2 separate regions of the Homo sapiens genome follow, and region 2 is linked to region 1. The links are contacts of gene promoters, found by promoter capture Hi-C in blood cells and fetal thymus (Javierre and others, 2016). All regions are on one chromosome and are shown on one strand. The core of a region is centred on a gene start or on the middle of the fragment in contact, and the rest is flanking DNA. Distances in the headings are between cores, read along the strand shown. Region 1 holds the start of RPL10L (ribosomal protein L10 like). Region 2 overlaps MDGA2 (MAM domain containing glycosylphosphatidylinositol anchor 2).

Evidence for each region. Contacts are between HindIII fragments. The CHiCAGO score rates a contact against its expected background, and 5 or more counts as called.
Region 2: a fragment that was not itself captured here is called in contact with the fragment with the promoter of RPL10L in region 1 in 1 of 17 cell types (M1 macrophages); the score reaches 5.3 in M1 macrophages.

What each region holds. Positions count from the first base shown.
Region 1 is chr14:46,650,112-46,653,396 of GRCh38, reverse strand. RPL10L (ribosomal protein L10 like) reads left to right here and starts at 1,616. Exons shown (of 1, transcript NM_080746.3): 1 at 1,616-2,387. The coding sequence starts at 1,661. The coding sequence ends at 2,305. All of the region lies in intron 3 of LOC105370481 (a long non-coding RNA gene), which reads left to right. The HindIII fragment of the contact is 1,853 bases long and covers 233-2,085 here.
Region 2 is chr14:47,238,446-47,241,610 of GRCh38, reverse strand. The region is part of intron 2 of MDGA2 (MAM domain containing glycosylphosphatidylinositol anchor 2); the gene reads left to right. Among named protein-coding and RNA genes, the nearest start is that of MDGA2, 440 kb to the left of the region's middle. The HindIII fragment of the contact is 1,689 bases long and covers 411-2,099 here.

The DNA of each region.
Region 1 (3,285 bases), core at 367-2,866:
CTCATCCCCAGCCTCATCCCACAGTCTCAGGGCTTACTTTGCTTTTCCTTTTTGGCACATTTTACACTTGGTAATATGATGATATATGAGAAGTATCTATATCCTCTCCTAGGCTTGTAAGCTTGGTGAGAGCAACATGGTATTAGCTACTTTATCTCAATATGTTAAACAGGAACTAGTTGAGAAAAAGGGGAAAGAAGAAATGAAGGAAGAAAAGGGAAGTGAGAAAGCTTTCTTAAAGGTCAGAAAGTTTTCTACATTGGGAGATTTAATTGTTTTATCTTTAGTATTTTGTAAAAATCCACTCACTTTAAGGGCAGGAGTTATTTTTCTCCCTTAAAACAAAGAGTATTGACAGAATATATTCACATTGGGGGGATTTTGTTCCATGATGTAATGGATTTGTGAAACAACATTAAAACAAAAAAGAAAACTAGAAAAATGCAAGTAGGGTTTGTAAACTATTAATTTCTTTTCCTCTCTCTTCTTCCTCCTTTCCTACACTCTGATCCCTGTCATAATATTTTTACAAACTCTGAGAAGAAAAAAAGTTTAAATTTATTCTCAGGGGCAAAAGATTACTAAAACACAAACTGTTACTCTTTTATATAGTTTCAGCAGCTTTAACATTTGAAAATGCAAATAGCCTTAAGTTAAAAAAAATCTAGTTGGTGTTTCAATTTTGTATATATCATTTTGATAATAAAATCATTTCTTTAGGCCAAATAAAGAAAAAACAAAGTTTCATGTTTATAAAACAATTGCCAAGCTACAGATACAACAGATATCTTCTCTTTATCCCTCTCTCTTCTCTTCCTCTCATCTCTTCCTGAGTCTCATCAAAGCACTCATGCCAAGAAACCACTTTATCCAGGGAAGGTGGCCACATAACCCAAGAAACAGCAATTGATCTACAAATGCTGACAGTGAGATACAAGCTCTGGAAAATGAACTGACCAAACTGGAAACAGCATGTTGAATAACTGGAAGGATTTTTCCTCTCAAATTCTAGGATTTCTTTTTTTCTTTTTCTTTAGACAGGGTCTCCCTCTGTCACTCAAGCTGGAGTGCAGTGGTGCTATCTCAGCTCACTGCAGTTTCTGCCTGCAGGGCCCAGGCGATCCTCCCACCTCAGCCTCCTGAGTAGCTGGGACTACAAGCATGTGCCACCATGCCCAGCTATTTGATATATATATATTTTTTTTTTTGTAGAGACAGCATTTCACTATATTGCCCAGGCTGGCCTCGAACTCCTGAGCTCAAGAGATTCTCCTGCCTGGAAATAACCTCTTTTATACTTAAAGCAAAGCTGAAAGCAAGAGTTCCTAGCCCAAGATGGCTAGCAGAAAGGAAGCAGCAGCTGTGCAGTTGGGGCGGGGCCCAATTCCTTCCCTGGCCGCCAGGGGGAGTCTACCCACAGCTGACTCTGCTCACCTTAAGCGCGCCACTTGGCGCAGGCGCTGAGGCGCCAGACGTCCCTGCGTCTCTGGTTGGGACGTCCTGAAAGAGAGTCGTCACATCCTCCTCAGGACTCTATGGTTCCGGCCTCAGGACTCTATGGTTCCCGCGAGGGACGAGGGGCAACGTATATAAATGCGCGCAGGCGTAGTTAAGAGAGCGCATTTTGACTTCGAGGCACCGCCGACGTTACTGTGTCGCCATGGGGCGCCGTCCAGCTCGCTGTTACCGGTATTGTAAGAACAAGCCGTACCCAAAATCTCGTTTCTGCCGAGGGGTTCCTGATGCCAAGATCCGCATCTTTGACCTGGGTAGAAAGAAGGCAAAAGTGGATGAGTTCCCACTCGGTGGCCACATGGTGTCTGATGAATATGAGCAGCTGTCTTCTGAAGCCCTGGAGGCCGCCCGTATTTGTGCCAACAAATACATGGTGAAAAGTTGTGGCAGAGATGGCTTTCACATGCGAGTGCGGCTCCATCCCTTCCATGTCATCCGCATCAACAAGATGTTGTCCTGTGCTGGGGCTGACAGGCTCCAGACAGGTATGCGAGGTGCCTTTGGAAAACCCCAGGGTACTGTAGCCCGGGTCCACATTGGTCAAGTCATCATGTCCATCCGCACCAAGCTTCAGAACGAGGAGCATGTGATTGAAGCCTTGCGCAGGGCCAAGTTCAAGTTCCCTGGACGCCAGAAGATTCATATCTCCAAGAAGTGGGGCTTCACGAAGTTTAATGCTGACGAATTTGAAGACATGGTGGCCAAGAAGTGCCTCATCCCTGATGGTTGTGGAGTCAAGTACGTTCCCAGTCATGGCCCCTTGGACAAGTGGCGGGTTCTGCACTCATGAAGGTTTTGGCAGTACTGTCTCCTTGGGCCATGCTGGTCTGACTTATGCTTACTAATAAATTCTGTTTACTGGCAAAAAATAACTCCTTATTAAGTTTTAATATTTTTTAAATATCCAATGTTTTAGAATATAGACTACTAGAGAATTTTTTTCTATTTATTCAGTTTTAATGGCAAATGTTACCTTCCTTGCTTCAGTAAAACTATACAATTTATAGAGAAAGCTGTTTTAAGCAAACACTTTAAATTTAGGAGAGTATAGAGCAATATGTTGAAAGTTTTGTTTGTAGTAAAGTCATAAGTTATGCAGCTATCATTCCTTGAATAAAAAATAGATTTGAGTGAAAAAATTTGTTTATAGAATATAAACTAAACAGTAGCGATGAAAATAATAGTAGGCATTAGTGATATTTCACCCACAGCCTCTTTGGAAGTAATTTATTTCTAAACTTGGTTGCCTTATGTTTTTCTATAAATTTCTGTACATTGTTTTTAGAATTACCTTACACGTCTGATTATCAGCCTTAGGACAATTGAGTATCACTCTGAAAGGCTTTTCCAGACGAACTTTACATTGTCTCACAGTCAAGAGATAACAGTCTAATCTTTTTTTCATCATAGAAAGGTCATAGGTGACAACAGAGTTCATATTACTTGTATCTGGGCTCCAGTAGAACCAAAAGAAGAGAGAAAATGACACTAAATCGGTTATCTGTGCTATAAAAGGACCCTAAAGAGAGTTTGCAATTGTAGGTGCTTGCCCTGAATTAGAGTTACGTTGATGACACAGGTGCTTTTTGTTTTATTTTTGAAACTACATAAGCTAAAATTCCTGAGTTTGTACTGCATTAAAAAAAATTCTTGTTCTTTACAATTGACTTAGCCTTTTGAATCTCAATCCTGCTAACAGTGCCTTCAGTGTTTTTAGACTAACGGTTCTTTTTCAAAGTCAACACATTTAATGAAAACAACAAAAGAAAT
Region 2 (3,165 bases), core at 6-2,505, 590 kb before region 1:
AATAATTCACTGGCGACTTAAACTTTTGGTTCAAGGAGTGACCTTTAATTAAAGAAAACACCTTTGCTAAAGCAAACAACTAAAACCTTTCTAAAATTAACAAATTTTTACAATGGAAAGAAACACACACAAAAAACAAACACAATAATTTTTAAATTTCTTCTATCCTGTGAAGGAATTGACATTTTAATGGAAAAGATAGGATTTTTCTAAGTCCCAGGGAGTTGGCCCTATGAAAATAGCCTGAGGCAATATGAGGATGTTTGGATGTTTATCTAAAAGTGCATGGAGCCTGAAGGAGAGCAATGGTTTCACCATTTTGCCTGCATGTGCCTCCAACCATAAAGCACAGACTTAGCTTTCGTTAGGATTACTTAAGGTATTTCCCTTCCCCCAGGCCATCTTAAGCTTCCTGAGAGTTGAATTAGTTACACTTGTTTTAAGGAAGTATTAAAGTAACCTTTTAAATGATCAACTTTGCAACATCAAGTGACTCTGAAAGCCCATCTCCTGGATTGGTCATCCACTCCTAAAGGTTAAGTTTTCAAGCAGAACATGAAAACCCTCAATGATTTCAACAAACATATCTGGAGCAAGTTTCCTTCAAATAACCCATTTTCTAAAATCACACATGTGCCTCTTTATACTCTTGGATGGTATGCATAACATTTCCAAATTTAGCTGATTCAGCCAAATGTTATGAAGAAACCATCTGATTAAAGTAATTGGTAATAAAATATGAATAATTAAGTGACACCCTCCTTAGAGGTATTTGCTTTCAAGAGAGTTGGCTAAGTGCTCACTAATTGGGAGATCAGGAGAGGGCAACAGCAATTTAGCACACTGCTTCTGCTTTACATTTTCCTTTCTGGGTAATGTATTTTTTGCTAAAACCCCTCAGTTGTGTGTGCAATATTCTAAGACATGCACTACTTACATAGTAATAATCATTAATTATTTTCTATCCATGATTTCTGAGACTTCTTTTCAAATACTTCTTTTTCTCTCCACTCCCATACCACGTTCCTTTTCATTTCCAATTTGTACCTTTTCCTAAATGGAGTATCCACAAAGAAAGGCACATTTGGTGTTATTTTTCCAGACACTGACAAAATACAGTGCTTCTTGAACTTTTTAATAAACTAGTTACTCTTTATTATTATGATTGCTGTTTTATTGAATGTTCATAACTTAACACACTCCTATAACCCGGTTCAAGAAACTGAACATGACAAGCACAATATTCTTCTTCTTAAAAAATGTTTCTAGCTGGGCGTGGTGGCTCACACCTGTGATCCCAGCACTTTGGGAGGCCAAGGTGGGTGGATCAGGAGGTCAGGAGTTCAAGACCAGCCTGACCAACATGGTGAAACCCCCATCTCTACTAAAAATACAAAAATTAGCTGGGATTGGTGGTGCACGCCTGTAATCCCAGCTACTGAGGAGGCTGAGGCAGGAGAATCGCTTGAACCAGGGAGGCAGAAGTTGCAGGGAGCCGAGATCGTGCCACTGCACTCCAGCCTGGGCAACAGAGCAAGACTGTCTCAAAAAAAAACAGCAAAAACTGTTTCTAACCAAAAATAATGTCTATCCTTCCATTATTTTTGGTGAAATCACTTTGTGTTGTATCAGCTCTTTGAGTGACAAGGTTATAACACTGAATGTGCACAATATGTTTCAAGGACTGAAATATATAGAGAAAAAGATTGCTACTAAACTCTGGGAAAAAAATGTATGCCTAAAAAAAGATATAAAATTTTGATATAAAGCCCGTTGTTTCAAAAAGCAAGGATGCAATAACATTTGTGTATGTGGAGGAAAATAACTTTTATTCAATCAAATATTTATTAAAATAGTGTCTTTTCAGGCAGATAATTTAATTTAGAATGATCTCATTTGTTAAGCATTGAAAACTTTTTTTTCCCCAAAGGAAAATTCATTATCTTATTGAAATGTAATAGTAAAATAGCCAAAGGTAATAATAAAATAACTGACTTACAGCTCCTTTTGGTATGTGTTCCCTTGAAATATTAAGAAGTAACAAAAATTCTCTTCAATTAAAATTGTATGCCTGGTATCTGTTTTCTATGAAAGAAGCTTTTTATGTTTCACATCAAATTGATCAAAGCATATTACTTGCCTTTTGCAATGCAAACACATCTTTTTGAGAAGGCTGATTTTCTCATCCCTTAGAAAGTTTATAAATTATTTTACACAATGTACAGTAATTTATATTAGACATGTTAAAGTAGAAGCCTATAGTGAAATATTTATGATTAAAATAATGATATGTTTCAACTCAGTGATACTAGTCCAGGAAACTAAAGCAATGTGACAGAATTTGTCCGTAATTTAATTTAGCACTTATCAGAGCCCTTTTTTTTTTTTAATAAATTTTGACTTTCGTAAAGGTTACGGTCGTCAGGGTCACATAATATGTTTTGTTTCCCCCAAGCTAGCATGAGGTTCATATTAGGCCCTCAATACAACTTTATGATGGCGATAGTAGCACTCAAATTTGTGGAAGATAATTTACGTTTGATAGTTATCTGAGAACAACTAAACCCAGCTACATAAACACCAGTAATGGAGTTTTTGGTAAAGAATAAAGAGATTCTTGCAGAGCCGATCACAATTTACTTACAACAAAAAATTGAGATATTTCTTCCCATTTTAAACTTTCTACCTCTTAGCTCATCCTTACTTTCTATTAATTTAAAAAATATTATTATAAATCATTTTGTATTATTTGGGGTCCTCTGCATTAGTCATAGTTTTACTAAAAACAGTGTATTTTGGGTTGTTTTATTTTGTTTTTACATCATTATATGTGGAGAAATTAATGAATATATCTCCTTTTTGTTCCTGAACTTTTACTTTCTATTCTTCCTAACACTGCTAAGCTTTAAAGTCTTTTCATAAATCTTATTCTCTGAGTAAATGCCCGTCTGGGAACATGGCATTTCCACATTTTTTTTGAGCGGTCCATAGGGTAATTTATAACACAAACATTTTAATTAATAATGTTGATGTTTTTATTATTCCTAAATAGGTAATCTGGGTTTTGTTTTGTTTTGTTTTGTAAGCACGTAAGACCTTGAATTTCTTAGAGTACAGATTTCCCTTAGAATTACATGGGGGCATTACCGAGATAATTTCTGCTTG